6 separate regions of the Homo sapiens genome follow, and regions 2, 3, 4, 5 and 6 are each linked to region 1. Evidence: promoter capture Hi-C in 16 types of primary human blood cells and fetal thymus (Javierre and others, 2016). All regions are on one chromosome and are shown on one strand. Each heading gives the region's core, a stretch centred on a gene start or on the middle of the fragment in contact. The rest is flanking DNA. Distances are from core to core; before and after follow the strand shown.

Evidence for each region. Contacts are between HindIII fragments. The CHiCAGO score rates a contact against its expected background, and 5 or more counts as called.
Region 2: a fragment that was not itself captured here is called in contact with the fragment with the promoter of PRSS54 in region 1 in 1 of 17 cell types (total CD4 T cells); the score reaches 5.8 in total CD4 T cells.
Region 3: a contact is called between a fragment that was not itself captured here and the fragment with the promoter of PRSS54 in region 1, in 2 of 17 cell types (naive CD8 T cells and total CD4 T cells). The highest score is 7.6, in naive CD8 T cells.
Region 4: the fragment with the promoter of SLC38A7 here is called in contact with the fragment with the promoter of PRSS54 in region 1 in 7 of 17 cell types (M0 macrophages, total B cells, M2 macrophages and 4 more); the score reaches 7.1 in M0 macrophages.
Region 5: a contact is called between the fragment with the promoter of SPMIP8 here and the fragment with the promoter of PRSS54 in region 1, in 11 of 17 cell types (fetal thymus, naive CD8 T cells, total B cells and 8 more). The highest score is 14.5, in fetal thymus.
Region 6: a contact is called between the fragment with the promoter of ZNF319 here and the fragment with the promoter of PRSS54 in region 1, in 2 of 17 cell types (M2 macrophages and fetal thymus). The highest score is 6.3, in M2 macrophages.

Annotation. Positions count from the first base shown.
Region 1 is chr16:58,293,583-58,296,410 of GRCh38, reverse strand. It overlaps PRSS54 (serine protease 54), which reads left to right and starts at 1,386. Exons shown (of 7, transcript NM_001305173.2): 1 at 1,386-1,524; 2 at 2,202-2,426; 3 at 2,589-2,679. The coding sequence starts at 2,595. The HindIII fragment of the contact is 4,073 bases long and covers 1,222-2,828 here.
Region 2 is chr16:58,768,868-58,771,695 of GRCh38, reverse strand. All of the region lies in intron 2 of LOC107984867 (a long non-coding RNA gene), which reads right to left. It also overlaps the pseudogene RN7SL143P. Among named protein-coding and RNA genes, the nearest start is that of GOT2, 36 kb to the right of the region's middle. The HindIII fragment of the contact is 3,631 bases long and covers 1-2,828 here.
Region 3 is chr16:57,872,400-57,875,227 of GRCh38, reverse strand. No RefSeq gene overlaps it. Among named protein-coding and RNA genes, the nearest start is that of KIFC3, 71 kb to the right of the region's middle. RefSeq lists an enhancer at 1,567-2,094. The HindIII fragment of the contact is 1,231 bases long and covers 757-1,987 here.
Region 4 is chr16:58,683,374-58,686,201 of GRCh38, reverse strand. SLC38A7 (solute carrier family 38 member 7) reads left to right here and starts at 1,432. Exons shown (of 12, transcript NM_018231.3): 1 at 1,432-1,485; 2 at 2,024-2,247. RefSeq lists enhancers at 1,646-1,705, 1,216-2,060. The HindIII fragment of the contact is 5,837 bases long and covers 1,375-2,828 here.
Region 5 is chr16:57,975,091-57,977,918 of GRCh38, reverse strand. It overlaps SPMIP8 (sperm microtubule inner protein 8), which reads right to left and starts at 1,375. Exons shown (of 8, transcript NM_199456.3): 1 at 1,285-1,375; 2 at 1-104. The coding sequence starts at 102. The HindIII fragment of the contact is 9,202 bases long and covers 1-2,828 here.
Region 6 is chr16:57,999,332-58,002,159 of GRCh38, reverse strand. ZNF319 (zinc finger protein 319) reads left to right here and starts at 1,488. Exons shown (of 2, transcript NM_020807.3): 1 at 1,488-2,667. It overlaps USB1 (U6 snRNA biogenesis phosphodiesterase 1), which reads right to left and starts at 753. Exons shown (of 7, transcript NM_024598.4): 1 at 579-753. The coding sequence starts at 676. RefSeq lists enhancers at 515-614, 641-935, 1,108-1,277, 2,135-2,404 and silencers at 695-944, 1,235-1,834, 1,885-2,014. The HindIII fragment of the contact is 9,268 bases long and covers 1-2,828 here.

The DNA.
Region 1 (2,828 bases), core at 137-2,636:
CCCAAGAGTTCGAGACCAGCGTGGGCAACACAGTGAGACCCCATCTCTTCAAAAAAATATAATATGAAAAATTAGCCAGACTTGGTGGCACAGGCCTGTAGTTCCAGCTACTTGGGAGGCTGAGGCTGGAGGATCACTTGAGCCCAGGAGTTCGAGGCTGCAGTGAGCTGTGATTGCACCACTGTACTCTAGCCTGGACAACAGAGCAAGAACTTGTCTCTAAAAACAATAAAAAATAAAAATTTAAAATACAGCTTTTTGATACCTGTGATGTGGAACAAATTAAAGAATCAACTCGCACTTCTCCCACTGCCAAAAATTTTCTGTTCTTGTAGCAGAAGCCAATACCCCCGCCCCCCTGCCCAGGGTTAAAGGTGAGGGAGGGTGGTGAAGCCGGCAGGACATCAGGGGAACCATGGGGGAAGGAGGTAGCGGCTCCCTTTGGACTCAGGCCTCACTTTATTATTATTATTATTATTTTGAGACAGGCTGTCACTCTGTCGCCCAAGCTGTAGTGCAGTGGTGCGATCTCAGCTCACTGCAACCTCCACCTCAGCTTCCCGAGTACCTGGGACTATAGGTGTGTGCCACCACGCCTGGCTAAATTTTTGTATTTTTGGTAAAAGACAGGGTCTCACCATGTTACCCAGTCTGGCCTCAAACTCCTGAGCTCAAGCAATTTGCCTGCCTCGGCTTCGCAAAGTGCTGGGATTATAGGCGTGAGCCACCGTGCCCAGCCAGTTTCCACTTTCTCACCAGCCTTCCTGCCTTCCATCAGCCATTCATCTACCCATCCAGTAAGGATCTTCTGAGCGTCTGCACCAGAGGCCTGTGCGCCCACCCTCCCCCTGTGGCTCCGTGGAATTAACATCTTACCTCAACCTTGTCGACACTTCTCGAGTCCTGGCATTTGGGCTGAAACCAAAGCTGCTCACAGTGGCTGGAGTGGCAGATCCCATCTGGGCCTCTGGTTTGGCAGAGCTGGTCTGGTAGCTTAGATTGGACCCGGAAACTGAGAGGCTAAAGAAAACTGGGCTAAGTCTGAAAGAAACCACCCTGGGAGTGTAAGATGCTGACGGGGACTGGAAATTCCAAACCCACCCCAGTTGTGGGCTTCCTCAGTCCAGTCTGACAAGCATGTGTGGACACAGGGCGGGCGCTGAGTGGGGTAGACAGACCGTGGCCACGACCAGAGAAGACTTTGTAATCCAGCAAAAAGCTTGCCTTCTCAGACTAGGAGAGAGCCTGGCTTCCAGAAGAGCCCTGCCAAGGCTAAGCAACAAGGAGGCCTTTCATCCTAGCTCCTCGTAAGTCCCCATGTCCAGACAGTTGCTTGGTGGTGCCATGGTAACCGTGATGCCACAATGGAACATTCTTCCCAAGGCAGTAGAAGAAATCCTTCTGTTGAACTCTACTGTGTCAGGCCAGCCTGAGTTCATTTCTCCTTGAGCAGGAACAGTTCATGGACGAACTCTGAGGACCATTCTGAGGACAAGAGGCATCCAGTGTCATGAGTGGAACATGGTGACTTAGAACTGTGCACATGGGTTCCTTGGGCTTCTGTGCATTGCTTGACAGCTGTGTGACCTTGGACTGGCTAGTTGATGTCTCTGAGTATCAGTTTCTGAATCTGTAAAATGGCGATAACTCGAGTGTCTACTTCCTACCGCGGTTTTGCAAATGAACTAAGCTAAATGCTGGGGCTGTTCCTATGTAAAGATACAGGCTATTGGCCGGGCACGGTGGCTCACGCTGGTAATCCCAGCACTTTGGGAGACTGAGGCGGGTGGATCACCTGAGGTCAGGAGTTCGAGACCAGCCTGGCCAACGTGACGAAACCCCATCTGTACTAAAAATACAAATATTACAAAATATTACAAAATAATACAAAAATTAGCTGGGCGTGGTGGCGCACATCTGTAGTCCCAGCTACTCAGGAAGCTGAGGCAGGAAAATCGCTTGAACCTGGGAGGCAGAGGTTGCAGTGAGCCAAGCTCGTGCCACTGCACTCCAGCCTGCCAAGGGAGCGAGACTCAGTCTCAAAAAAAATAAAATAAAATAAAAAACAAAAAAACAGGCTGTTAACAGTTAACAGAAGCCCTAGCGTTCTTTTAGCCAGCAGAGTTTAGAAGGGTAAAACCACAGCAGAGGCATTAATCCCAGGGTGGGCTTCCACTAAAACTCTACTTTTCTTTCAGCAGCATTTTATGGCTACAGAGTTAAGGCAAGGGTTGAATTCCACGAGTCAAAAAGCAGCCCTTTTCAGAGACCCAACTCTCTGGGGTGCTCAGGGGCTTGGGCTGGATTGAGAAGAAAACTGACAAGAGTAAGCTGCCCTCTCTTCTCTGGCCATCTCACAAACCACAGTGCGGGCCAACTGGTCCTGCCTCTTTACCACACAGAACCAAGCACTAGGGATAAGACAGGTCAGTGCCCTACATCTTGGAACCTTTGTTAGTAGAAAGAGGGGGAGCCTCTGATGTTTGGGAGGGAACATGTGTGTTTGGGAAGAGGATGGAAAAAAGAGGCATAGAAAACCCTGCATGTGTTTGGGAAGAGGATGGAGTCATTGGGTTTTGTTTCCCCAGCTGCCCATGGTGTCCGCGGCGGGTCTCTCTGGGGATGGCAAGATGCGAGGGGTGCTCCTGGTGCTGCTCGGCCTTCTCTATTCTTCCACCAGTGAGTGTGCTGCTTTCCTCCCTCTGACTTTAGCTGCACACGTGGCACAGAAGGGGATCATCCGGGAAGATGAAGTGGTCCTTAATGTCCAAGGAGGGGCTCAGGGAAGATGACTCACGGCACTTTGCACCGGGCGGCCTGCATTGGTG
Region 2 (2,828 bases), core at 122-2,621, 480 kb before region 1:
TATTGTTTTAGCATATGCACGCAGGTAACAATAGCTTCACCTAGGAGGTCCTTAACAATTGTAGAAGCTCTTGGAAACCTGCTCCTATGTGGGCCCTTTCCCTTCAGCATGGGACCTGGTACAGACAACTTATACCATCTCCCACTCCTCTTCTCCTCCTCAAGGGGCTACCAATCTTGATGAACGATGAGGGTGAGTGTCGGTAATGAGGCAGAATGGTAGGAAATAATAAGTTAACAAGCCACTTCAGAAATGACTGCATTCATTCTGTTGAGCAGCTACTTAAGTTCCGACAGTTCACACTCATTTGCTAGAGTGTAATTCTAATCAGAATGAAAGTCCTTAATCACAGCACCATTACAGAATCTTCTGTCCTGAACCTATTAGGGCTCTTATCAAGTAAATACCTTGCATTTTTGAGCCTCTGCAAAGGAAACTGAGTCAGCGGTTCACAGCTCTACTTATCCCAGGATTAGTGCTGATGCTGCCAGGTCACAAAGCAATACTCATCCCTCCCCTACCTATTTGTTTCATCCGACCATGACTTGGCCTTCCACCATCCCATACCCTGTGAATAAAGGTCATAAATGCCCTCCCTCCTGCACGGACTCAGGTCAACACACATATCCTGGTTTTACGTTGTGCTGGTCATTTAACTTTTCTCTATCTCACTTTCTTTACATGTAAAGCAGATGATCAAGTCATAGTGCCCCATTGAGCACCAATTGCCCTGATACAAGGCAGTACCTCTTATGATGTTGATGTGAGGGTAGCAGGCAGAGGGATGTGGGTGGAGGATAGTAAAAGCCAATGGAGCAGGCCAGAAACATCACTGGGTTTGGGTTACTTTGAGGTTTGTTTGCTTGTTTGTTTTAAGAGATGGGGTCTCATTATGTTGCCCAGGCTGGAGTGCAGTGGCTATTCACAGGCATGATCTCACTGCTGAGCAGCACGGGAGTTTTGACCTGCTCTATTACTGACCTGGGCCAGTTCACCCCTCCTTAGGCAGCCTGGCAGTCTCCAGCTCCCAAGAGTCATCATACTGACACTGAACTTAGCATGGACACCCATGGGCATAGCGCACTACAGCCCAGAACTTTTGGGCTCAAGTAATCCTCTCACCTCTATCTCCTGAGTAGCTAAGACTACAAGTGTGGGCCACTGCATCTGACTAATTTTGGAAATAATTGAGAGTAATGAAGAGAAAAGGAGAAAACCAGGTCACTGGTCTGCAATATCTTGCAAAATTAATTAAAAGGAAAAGTGTCATGTTTCTTCATTATAAATGGCTCTCACCTTTGGACCAACTCCCAGAAGTCCACCTTGGCCCCCCGCAAGGTCAACAGCGCTGTTTGAAGTCAATTCTGTAGCCCTCAAATTTAAATAATTATATGTTCTCCAAGTCTGCCCCATCTCTATTCTTTTGGTTACTCAGGCTGGATATTCTAGATCTATTTTTGACTCCTTCCTCAACTACCAAACTCTTCAATATCTCTACTATTCCGTATCTCTTCACCACTCCAATGGATGGTCAGTATAAAGTTTCCCTCTCAACTGACATTGAAAAAGCATTTCGCTTTGTTCATCCTGCCTCCAGTATCTCCATTTCAGTGTTTCAGGTCTACCCTGTGATTTTTTTTTTTTTTTTTTGAGATGGAGTCTCGCTCTGTTGCCCAGGCTGGAGTGCAGCAGCACGAGCTCAGCTCACTGCAACCTCTGCCTTCTGGTTTCAAGCGATTCTCCTGCCTCAGCCTCCTGAGTAGCTGGGACTACAGGTGCATGCCACCATGCCCGGCTAATTTTTGTATTTTTAGTAGAGATGGGGTTTCACTATAGTGGCCAAGCTGGTCTCGAACTCCTGACCTGCCTACCTCAACCTCCCAAAATGCTGGGATTACATGCGTGAGCCACTGCACCCGGCCAGGGATTTTAACCTTTAAAAATAAAGCTCTTGTTCCAAAACACTAAATGTCTCCCTAGTTTCCACTAAATAAAGGCCCAAATATCTCAGCCTGGTATTCAACTATTTTCATAATCTGACCCCAAACTTCCCATCTCCAACAGCTCTTGCTGTCTCCTTCCTTGAATTCTAGAGGCCACCCAAGCTGAACTGATTGCTAGTCTCAGTGCATGCCTCTGCTTCCTCTTCCCACATATATATTATGATGTTTTCTGCCTACGAGAAATCCTTAATTCCCAAATTTGTTCAGGTCTAAATTGTTCCTAAACATCAACATGCAACTCAAATGGCACCTTTCCTGAAGACTTTTCTGAACCCCCAAATAGAAGAGATCTTTATTCTCTGAACCCTCTCTCATAGCATTTACTACAGTATGACGACCTACAGGACTGAGTTCTTAACCAGTGCACTCAGCTCCCTCTCAGAGTACAACAAATCCAACTCCAAGGGACTTGAATCCTGGCATCATCATTGATCAGGTATTTGACCTGGGGTTATTTATTTAATCTCTGCCATCTTCCACTTGCTTATAAGATGGGAATAAGAATGATTCCTACTTCACTGGATATGGGAACTTCATGTATGAGGATTTCATGAGATAATACATGTCAGGTACTTGGCCTGCTGTCTGACACAGAAGTGCTCACTAAATTTTAGTTATGGTTTATTTATTTGTATCTGTGGGAGATACTTTCCAAAAAGGGTTGCTGTCAATCCCCTCCTTGCCTATAAGTGTGTGCCACTTCACCCATTAAGTTCATTACCTTTTCTCTTGACTCGAGACTGGCACCGTGACTTTCCTTGACCAATAAAATGCAGCAGAATGGATGCTATTTCTGGTCTTCTCCTTTAAGAAACCCAGCAGAGG
Region 3 (2,828 bases), core at 123-2,622, 420 kb after region 1:
AAGATGCTGACACCCCTACTCTACTAAAAATACAAAAAGTAGCCGGGCGTGGTGGCACGCGTGTGTGGTCCCAGATGCTCGGGAGGCTGAGGCAGGAGAATTGCTTGAACCCGAGAGGTGGAGGTTGTGGTGAGCCGAGATCACACCACTGTACTACTCCAGCCTGGGTGACAGAGCAAGACTCTGTTAAAAAAAAAAGAAAAAAAAAGGAAGAAGATTCAAAGGATGCTTGATAAACTCATTGTAACCAAAAAATTGTGAGTAACATTTCCTAGATTCAATTTCCTGAGCACTATCTCCTTCGATATCTCTTCTGAAATGAAAAGAAAGACGGCCTGAGTGCCCTTATTTAATTTATTTATTTTTTGAGATGGAGTATTGTTCTGTTGCCCAGGCTGGAGTGCAATGGCGTGATCTCAGCTTACTACAACCTCTGCCTCCCGAGTTCAAGTGATTTCCGGCTAATTTTTGTATTTTTGGTAGAGATGCGGTTTCACCATGATGGCCAGGCTGGTTTCGAACTCCTGACCTCAAGTGATCCTGCCACCTTGGGCTCCCAAAGTACTGGGATTACAGGCGTCAGCCATTGCTCCTAGCCCTTGTATTATTCTTTCAATGGGCATAAGGTGTTGGCATCTCCAGGGGGTCCTCTTCCCTGGTCACCATGGTTGAGTTCCAGATTTAGCAAGTAAAAATACAGAAAGCCCAGGTAAATTTGAATTTCAGATAAACAATGAAGGTTTTTTTTTTTAAGCTTAAGTATATCTCATGCAATACTTGGGATATACTTATGCTAAAAAAAATTGTTATTTATCCAAAATTCAAATTCAACTTGGTGCCCTGTGTTTTTATCTGGCAATTCTGCAAGGTGAGGATGAGTGTCTCTCCTGCCCAGAGCAATTGGGGCTGCACCCTCTAGGGCCAACCTTGGGCCAGAGCCATCCTGGCATGCCCCTTCTCCAGAGCCAATCATGATTGGTGGAGGAAGAGGGAAAGCACCCACCCCAGGCTGCTGTTAGTGGTTTTTGTTTTTTATAGAGATGGGGTATCATTATGTTGCCCAGACTGGTCTAGAACTCCATGCCTCAAGCAATCCTTCTGCCTCCTTGCTGGGATTACAGGCATGTACGACCACGTCCAGCCTGTCCTGTCAGTGTTTCATTGTTCTTGTTTTTGAGACAGGGTCTTGCTCTGTCACCCACGCTGGAGTACAGTGGTTCAATCACAGCTCACTGCAGCCTCGACCTCCAGGACTCAGGTGATCCTCCTGCCACAGACATGCACCTCCACACCTGGCTATTTTTTTTTAACTATTTGTAGAGACGGGGGATAGGGGGTGGTGGGGACAAGTCGGGGGTCTCCCTATGTTGCCCAGGCTGGTCTCGAACTCCCTAACTCAAACAATCCTTTCATCTTGGCCTCCCAAAGTGTTGAGATTACAGATGTGAGCCACCACGTCTGGCCTGCCAGTGGTTTTTTAATATTTATCTTTATTAATTTTATCCTGAATGCACACACACAGGTGTTTGGGATCAGAGACAGATTTTATATTAATTACCTTTTAGCAAATAATAAGTACATAGCCTCCGCTCCCAGCCTCCCCTTAAGCCTTACTCCTGGCCAGGAAATGTCCCGTGCAAGTAGCCTGACACTCCATAGATGAAGGACAAGTTTTCTCTGCTTATAAAGGCGAAGGAGGTAGCTATTCCCCTCCCTTTTTGAAAGGGTCTCCTTGGAAACTTAATGGGCCCGAAACCTAACCCCAGCCCTTTGATATGTAAATAAAGCCTCACCCGGAACGAGATAGCCCCAGGTGTCTCAGCTTTAACCACCTGGAGGGGTCTTCAAGTTCTGGGACTTTCTCCCTTTGACATATAAATACCTAGGGAGATAGCGCCGGAGTCTTCCCGGCATTTTGGAGCTAGCCAAGAGACCTAGGCTCGGCTGTGGCCATTTGGCCGTCTCCCGGAGGGAGGTGAGAGAAGCTTTAGGATCCTTTCTAATCAAGGCAGTTAACTAGACAAATGGCTCCAGAGCGCATTATCAAGAGTCTCGGGAGACTGGGTCCCCACCTTTCACATTTCCAAATTTCTTCCTTTTCTTTCCTTCCTTCCTTCCTTTCTTTTTTCTTTTCTTTTTTTTTTTTTTTTTTTTTTTGACAGAGTCTCGCTCTGTCGCCCAGGCTTGAGTGCAGTGGTGCAATCTTGGCTCACCGCAACCTCCGCCTCCCAGACTAAAGCAATTCTCCTGCCTCCGCCTCCAGAGTGTCTAGAAATACAGGTGCGCGCCACTACCGCCCGGCTAATCTTTGTATTTTTAGTGGAGACAGTGTTTCACCATGCTGGCTAGGCTGGTCTTGAACTCCTGACCTCAAATGATCCACCGCACCCAGCCGCATTTCCAAATTTCTGAAATCAAGTGTTCCTTAATGAAAAGTGGGTAGAGGAGAGGGTCACGTGAAGTGTTTCCAGGCAGGTTCAAAAGAATAATTCAGATACCATGGAAAACTTCCACATATAAGTCAAATGTAAGTAATAAGTTTTAAAATCAGGGCCAGGTGCGCTGGCTCACACCTGTAACCACAGCACTTTGAGAGGCTGAGGCAGCAGGATCACTTGAGCCCAGGAGTTCAATACCAGTCTAGGTAACATGGCGAAAACCCGACTCCACCAAATATATATATATAATAAAAATTAGCCAGGGGTGGTGGCACATGCCTATAGTCCCAGCTAGTCAGAAGGCTGAGGTGTGAGGATTGCTTGAGCCCAGGAAGTCGAGGCTGCAGTGAACTGTGATGGTACCACTGCATTCCAGTTTGGGGGACAGAG
Region 4 (2,828 bases), core at 183-2,682, 390 kb before region 1:
GACTCTGCTGGCATTCTGACCTCAGTCTTGACAGCTTCCAGGACGGTGAAAAATAAATCTCTGTCGTTTAAACCACCCAGTCTATGATACTCTGTTATAGCGGCCTTAACTGATTAAGACAGTATGATTCTATTTTTTTTTTTTTTTTTGAGACAGAGTCTCACTCTGTCTCCCAGGCTGGAGTGCAGTGGCACGATCTCTGCTCACCGCCACCTCCGCCCCCCGGGTTCAAGTGATTCTCCTGCCTCAGGCTCCCGAGTAGCTGGGACTACTGGCGTGCACCACCATGCCCAGCTAATTTTTGTATTTTTAATAGAGACAGGACTTCGCCATGTTGGCCAGGCTGGTCTCGAACTCCTGACCTCAAGTGATCAGCCCGCCTTGGCCTCCCAAAGTGCTGGGATTACAGGTGTGAGCCACCGCACTCAACCAGTATGATTCAATTTATATAAACTTTTTGGAGGCCAGGCACGGTGGCTCATGCCTGTAATCCCAGCACTTTGGGAGGCTGAGGTGGGTGGATCACTTGAGGTCAGGAGTTTGAGACCAACCTGGCCAACATGGCGAAACCCCATCTCTACTAAAAATACAAAAATTAGCTGGGAGTGGTGGTGCATGCCTGTAATCCCAGGTACTCGGGAGGCTGAGGCAGGAGAATCACATGAACCCGGGAGGCAGAGGTTGCAGTGAGCAAAGATCGTGCCACTGCACCCCAGCCGGGGAGACAGAGTGAGACTCTGTCTCAAAAAAAAAAAAAAAAAAAAAAAAAAAAAAGGTGTGATTTGGGTTTCTAAGGATTCCCAGTGTGTCCTCATCGGTGAGGACCTCTGATGCATGGAGAGGTAAGTGCAGTGGAGAGCATATCCACAAAACAGAGATGAGGCTATTGGGATGCTGGAGATTACGTGACAATTTATGAGTGACACACAGCCAAGAACAGAACCAGGACTGGATGCCCATTTCGTCATTCAACAAATATTTACTGAGCACCTACAATCCCTCAAAAACTGTTCTAGAGTCTAAACCGATGGGGTCGTAACCATGCCCCCAGCCCACTCCCTTGCAGGAAAGACCGTGGCTCCAGGTCCCCCACATTACTGATTAAAAAAAAACTCCAGTGCTCTGGCCATGGGCGTGAAGGCAAGGACAGAGACCGGGAGGATAATGAGGCCAAACAGCTTTGGCCCACCGCCACCGGGACTGGCAAAGAGGCCAGACCTCCTAATGCTCTTCCTTGGAGGAAGGAGCAGTGTTTGATTTGGTCAAGAGGCCAAGACTAAAAGTAAGAGGATAAACACGAGCTGGCTGGACGCGAGGCTGGCTCAGGGCAGTGCTGTCGGGCTGAGGATTCAGGGAGCTGGTGTTGTCCAAGCTTCACATTTGCGGAAACTACAACTCCCAGCGTGTCCCGCGGCCGCCCGAGCGGGCGTCATGTGATGCATGCTCACGTGTCTCCGCAGCCGGCTCGGGAAAGAATCCCCCAAGGTAGGTGGCCGGAGACAGGCTCTGGAGGGTGGAAGTGTTAGATCCCCGAGGTCTGTGGAGCCCCTCAGTCCCCGCCACCGCGGAAAAGCTCAGACCCTTTCCCTGCAGGGGTCCAGATCCTGGCGTCCTCGCCCCACGCCCGTCCCTCTGTTGCGCCAGCTCTGCCGCGCCTTTACCCAGCCAGAGGGTCTCCACCCAGTCCTAGGCCGGGATCGGGTCCCGGAGCTCCTCCCCAGGTTACCCCACAGTAGCCCACCCTTCTCGCTCCAGGCCTGGGAATCGCCCCGCCCCGGCCTCCTGGCCCGGGTGCGCCCTGGCTCACCTCACAAAGCCTCACCTCACAAAGCAGCCCACCCTTTCTATCTCAGGGCTCCAACCCCAGGCTGGACTGGGAGCACACTCCAGTTGGGATCTGAGGGGCCTACATCGCTGGCCTGAGCATGTGGGCATCAGGCTTCTATTCTGGCTCTGCCAGCTACCCACTGTGACCTTAGTCTAACCTCTCCCTCCTGGGCCTGTTTTCCTATCTGTCCTGAAGCTCCATTTCATGAGTAAGCGTGAGAGCCGCTCAGTTTCCTCCAGCTCTGCTGAAGCCAGCACAGAAGTAGCCCAAACTCTTCCCTCTGCTGACAGCAAATTTTAGGCAAAGTCTTGAGAAAGAAGAAATTGGGTCCAGAAAGGGAAGTGAGGAGAATCAGATCCCAGACCTTTGGGGAGAAGGAGCAACCGCCTCTGGCACAGCCCATCAGGGAGAAAGAGCAGGTAAGGTGCAACAATGAGCTGAGTAATTTGCCAGTGAGCAGTGGGGGTGCCGAGAGGTCTTAACCAAGGCAGAGAATCTGCAAGAGGTGGGACCCCCAGCTTCTGAGTTCCACGAGGACCCCAGCCTGCACTCTCATGTGGGTGGCAGGAGAGGCTGGAGGATGGTGCAGGACTCGGGCAGGGGTGCCCAAGGGAAACATTTTGGTTGGAGAGTCAGGAAGCCGCACCAAGCCTTGTGACCTTGGACGAATCACTCTGTAGACCTCTGTCTCTGTGACGTGAGCAGCGGGGAGGAGATGGTCACAGCTCTGGCAGTGGTCACTTTGCAGGGTTCTTTCTCTAGCTACACTGGAAGCCTGGGAGTCCCAAGACTCTGCCTTCGCTGCTCACTGCTTTGATTTTGCTGAGTTGCTGGTTGGGTGACAGGATGTGTAAGAGGATGTGTAAGCCCTGTGACATCTGACAGATCTTTCTGGGTTTCGAGCCAGCAGAGGAATGTTTCCTCTGGTGCCATGTCCCTTGGTTCCATGCTTGATAACAGATGGCTGAGAGCACATGAACTTTCACCCTTTCCCTCTCAT
Region 5 (2,828 bases), core at 126-2,625, 320 kb after region 1:
CAGCTGGTTGCGCTGCCGCTCCATGGGAAGCAGGATGGCCGGGGAGGCATACACATGTGTGGAGCCATCGTCCCAGGGCACCAGGTCAATGATGCGGGCCATAGCTGGGGGGCAGAGGGTTCTAAGGGGCTCACCCTGGGCTCATGCTGGCCAGACACCCTTCTCTGCATGAAAACAACCTTGGCCAGTGCCGATGTCTACTTGCCAAACATTTATTTAGCACCTACTGTGTGCCAGGCCATTTTTCTGGAGCTCAGCATGAGGTGGCAGGAACATTCAGATAACAGAAGATAACAGAGACAACCCTCCCACTCCCCTTCCAACACACACATACACACACACACACACACACACACACTCACATTGTGCCATGGCTGTGAGGGAGGTCAGTACAGAGTGTGTGTTTCTGGGGAGGCTGGGGTTAGGACATTCAAGGAATGGTCTAAAAGAGGTGGTATTTGAGTCTATTCGTTTTTTTTTCTTTCTTTCTTTTCTTTTTTTTTTTTTTTTTGAGACAGTCTCACTCTTCTGCTCAGACTGAAGTACAGTGGCGCCATCTTGGCTCAATGCAACCTCTGTCTCCTGGGTTCAAGTGATTCTCCTGCCTCAGCCTCCTGAGGAACTGGGATTATAGGCATCCACCACCACATGTGACTAGTTTTTGTATTTTTAGTAGAGACGGGGTTTCACTGTGTTGGCCAGGCTGGTCTCGAACTCCTGACCTCAAGTGATCCACCCGCCTCAGCCTCTCAAAGTGCTGGGATTACAGGTGTGAGCCACCTTGCCTGGCGAGTCTATTCTTAAATAATAAGCAGGAAAGTGCAGCAGCAAGCGGGTTCAGAATGTAGCTTAGTATGCCGTATACCTCTGGGTGAATAATTATGGACTTGCCCTAGCTATTTACCCAAAATTCTACAGATTGACTCAGAAAGATTTTCAGGAAGGGGAGCAACATGATATATTTAAACTAGAAAAGCATTACTGGATACCCAGTGCCTCCCTTTAAAAAGCAGATAGTCCCAGGAGCCTTTCAGTCATTTACACTTTAGTGAGAATTTGTTGAGACAGCTTGCTTTCTTCCTGACCCTGAGTTAGAGGTGAGAGGTGGAGGTGGAAGCTAGGGTGGCAGGAGGAGAGAGGACCTTAGATCATGGAGGAGCAGGGAGGGGGCATGGTGACAAGGCATGGGGAAGCTGCCTTAGGGGATGTGACTGCCTGGGGAGGGACAGGGAGGGGGATCACGGATATGGGGAAGAGAGCAAGGGCTCCCTGCTTCTGACTCACCAATAGCAGCTACCTTATCTGTAGGGCCCAGGCCCAGGTGCACAGGCTTATAAGGACTTTCAGTTCTTTGACTGCTCAATGGGCAGAAGAGGAAGGGAGGTGGACGAGCCCTTATTATGGACAGCAGCAGAATAAAGGAACATTGTGCACAGACAATGCCCATTGCAGCCTGATTCTGAGGCACCCACTCCTTAGCAACCCTGGCAACTACAGGCTCTAACAAGAGCCTGTGCCAGAATTCCTGTGCTCTGGCCACTCCCTTCCAGCCTTCCTGAAGGCTGTGGTCTCCCAGGCCTTAGCACAGGCCAGGCATCTTGGGAAATGTCAGATGGGGAGCTGGGGTTCCCTGGAGGTAGTCAGGCCAAGGCAGGCCAGAAATGGCTACTGAGCCCACTGCAGGCTGTGTAATCCTGGGCTAATTACCGCCTCTCTCTGGGACTCAAGGCTCTCCTCTGTGTTAGGCAAGGACTCTAGGATCTGCCGTTAGGAGGATCTGGATGCTGAGAGGGATCTCCCCTCCCTGGAACCCTCAGGGAAGAGGGCACTGCACTGTCTGCCAGCCCTTGAGTCTCCAGGAGTGGAGATTAGCTGTGGCCAGTATCCAGGGTAAGCGTGAGGGGATCAGGGAGAGTGGTGGACTCAGCAGGCCAGGGATTAGCAGATGATACTCCACCCTCAGCCCCTGCAGGACTGCAGGCTCCCAGAAAAGCCAGGCTGTGAGTGCCCAAGGCCAGCACCCCAAAGCCCTGGGGCCTGCCCACCATCCTGGTCACAACCATTAGAGACAGACCCCCAAGGTGAGGAAACCCCAGGAGATCCTAACTTATTTGCATATATTGGCATGTGCTTTTGCATATACCTGCCCAGGGGCTGAACCTGATGGGTCTTGGAGCCCCTCCTGTGAAATTCTTGTAGGATTTGTTTCCCCAGTTGCTCCTCCTCCAGTGCTCCATACAGCTTCCAGAACAGCATTCCTAACTGCTACCCCTTACAAAAAACCTTCCCAGAGTTGACTCCACTCACCACCCCACCCCCAATTTATTTCTTGACTCTTTTAAAGTTATAAAATAGAAGAAATACAGAAAGTGAATAAATATCTAATGTAACTAATAATTTACAAAATGAGACCCCGTATAACTACCACCCACCCTGGTCAAGACATGGAGTACTACTTTTAAAACAGTTTATCAGTTTCTTAAAAAATGAAACAGAAATGTACCATATGATTGGGTCATCTGGAAGATTCTACCCCAGGAGGCTTCCCAAGAGAAATGAAAGTATATTGTGAGGCACGATGGCTCACACCTGTAATCCCAGCACTTTGGGAGGCTGAGGTGAGCAGATCACTTGAGGTTGGGAGTTTGAGACCAGCCTGGCCAACATGGTGAAAACCTGTCTCTACTGAAAACACAAAAATTAGCTGGGCGTGGTGGTGCAAGCCTGTAATCCCAGCTACTCAGGACGCTGAGGCAGGAGAATCGCTTGAACCTGGGAGGCGGAGGTTGCAGTGAGCCGAGATCGCAGCATCGCACTCCAGTCTGGGC
Region 6 (2,828 bases), core at 239-2,738, 290 kb after region 1:
TTTCTGGGCCTCAAATGCCTCATCTGAAAGTATATGTCTACCTGATAGAGCAATTGTGGGATCAACTGAGCTACTGCTTGTAAAGCACTCAGCAAAGATAAGGCCTAGCATTTAAGAATCTAAGCCCCAGGAAGTAAGGCCGACGGTTTTGTTCACCACTGAATTACCAGACCCCAGCCTGGCAGGGAGTGGGTGCTCAGTGAATATTTACTGGATGAATGAAAAGGCTCTCCCTACGCTTTAGCAAGTATTACTATCGCAATTGTATTCAAATCAGGAAACGGACCTAGGATGGTACAGGGATGTGTGCCAGGCGATAGAGTGGGCCAGCGCGAGGCTGGACCCGAACCCAGGTCTGGCCTCCCAACTTGGCCCTAGCCAGGTGGGGCCACTCTGGAGCTTTGTCTGGGGTGGGGGGGAGGGGTATATCTTCTGGATCCTCCTTTCTTCCTGCGTCCCCTTTTCCTTCCCAGAGCCGCCCCGCATCCTCCCTCCCCACTCCACCCCCAGACATTCGGGTCCCGTCTGGCTCTAGGGTGAATGCGCGCGCCCTCCGGAGAGACTTCCTCACTCCTCACCGACGGTGGCTCCCATCCCCCGGCCTGGTCCGCATCCCGTCCTCGGACTCATCCTCGGAGCCGCTGCTGCTGTAGCCCACCAGGGGCGCCGCGCTCATGGGGCCTCATCCAAGACCACCAGAGCAGGTCCACCAGCAACCTCAACCGGCACCCGGAGTTCCGCTGTGCCGGAAGCGCCCTCCCAGGGGCGGGGCCTGGGCTGGCACCGCCTCGGGGCGGAGCCGGGAGGGGCGGAACCCGGCAGGACAGTGGTGAAGATTCAGCCCACCGACTCCAAGCTGTCTGCCGGCTGCGCACGCGGATCTGGTCACCTGCAGCCTCCCGGCACCCCGCTGGGACCTCCCCAGCCTTCGTGTACCCATTTCATATATCGCTCAGGGCCCTCACCTTTCTGCCCGCTGCTGTCTGCAGCCACCCGGGACCAGACATACCAGACACGACAGTCCCGGGTCAGCGCACTAGACCCAGCGGAGACCCCTGCCTGCCCCGAGCCCGGCCAGGATCAGAGGTCCTGGAGCCCCCTCCTCAAACCAGCCCAAAGTCCAAGCCCCTAAAAGCCAAGCTGAGCAGTTAGGGGCGGATCAATTGTGGCAGACCAGAGCCTCTAGGAGGCCCCTCCTCTCCTGCGCAGAGCCGGGCCGAGGGCGGTCACCCGGAGCCCCCTCCCCTAAGCCCGAGCGGGGTGGCCGGAAGCAGAGCGCCCTTCCTCGGTTAGTCGAGGCGCCCAGGCCTGGCGACTCGAAAACCGCCCGGAGCACCCGGCTTGTCCGACCTGGCCCGGCCACGGGGTCCCCGGCAGGGGGCGGCCTCGCTCCGCGCCGCCCGCTCCTCCCGCATTGGCCGCCGCCGCCCGGGATGCCGCTCCTCCCCCGGCCCCGCCTCCCTGGCCCCCGCGCCGCCCGCCCGTCCGCCCGTCTCCGCAAGGCCATCGGTCCGTCCGCCCGCCCTCCCGGCGCTCCTCGCCCCGGCCCCGCTACTCCGGCAGCGCGCGTCGCTTCCTCCGTTCCGGCCGCCGCTAGCCCGTCCCCCGCCCCCGGTCCGGCCGCAGCCGCTACGCGAGGCCGGGGATTGGCAGCGCGCGTAGGCCGCGCCGCCGCGGATGGAGCCGGAATAAAGGGGCGGCCGAGAGAGCAGCTGGTCGCCGCTCGCCCCGCGCCTGCCCTGCAGGCGGCCTGGAGCAGGTGAGCGGCGGGGCGCCCGGGGCCGCATCTGGGGGCCACCCCCGCGCCCGCCGCACCCCTTCCTCTGCCGGCCCGGCCGCCCCCCCGCGCCCCTCCGCCGCGACCTAGCGGCCTCTTGAGCTTCTGGGCGGCCCAGGCCGGGCCTCGAGGCGCAGCCGCTTCCTGGGCCCGGCCTGTAGCCCTGGGGCCTTTCTCCAGCCCGGCCGCCCTCGGGGCTCGCCCTCGGGTCGCAGCGGCCGGGCCATCCCGGACGAGGGCTGACAGGACGCAGCCCAGCTGGGCCTGCAGGCAGGGCCGGCGGGAGGTGATCGGCTTTCATTCGGTTTCTCAGGGAGGAAGAAGAGACGGGGTGGGGCGCAGGTGGGGGGCCTCCCCTGCCTCTCCTTGCCTCCTCTCTCCCCTTTGCGGAGTGATCACAGAGGCTTCCTGGCTGCACCTTGCTGCAGGAGGGCCAGGGTGGGCAGGGGGTGCTGCAGACCAAGCCAGGGGACACTGTCTGACAGCCATTCATGCCAGAAAAAGCAAACAAAACAGTGGGTTGGCACAGCGGACCTACAGGCGCTCAGAGAAGCCCACCTTCCCCCTCTCTGTCCCGAGAAGGCTTAGAGTGGTACCTGCTTGCTCAAGCAACCTGCTGCCTCCACCCAGAGCAGCCGCTCCTCTCCTCCCTCCCTTCCGGAAGATGCTGAGGATGACAGCTTTTAGCCTGACTCTTACATTTCTTTGGCAGAGCAGTTAGAGGCCAGACTGTCCTGTGAAGGCTTCTCCTTCCTTCTTCCTCTGCTCAGGAGAAAACTTACAAACTTTTAAATGTAAGAGGCAGATGAGCTGGGAACCTGGAAGTGGGTTGCATCTGACTCTGAAAGTTCCTCCCTCTCGCTGGCATTACCTCATGCTGCCACAAAGTGGTGAGTTAGAGATTTGCCTGGGCTGGGTGGGCTTTACCTTCCAACAATTACCCAGAACTTTATAGGCTTGGAGTAAGGGAATGGAGTTGTCTCTAGAGAGGTGATGAGAAATGCTCTGTGGTTAGCATGCTGCATCCTGCATTGCCAAGGCAGACCAGGGC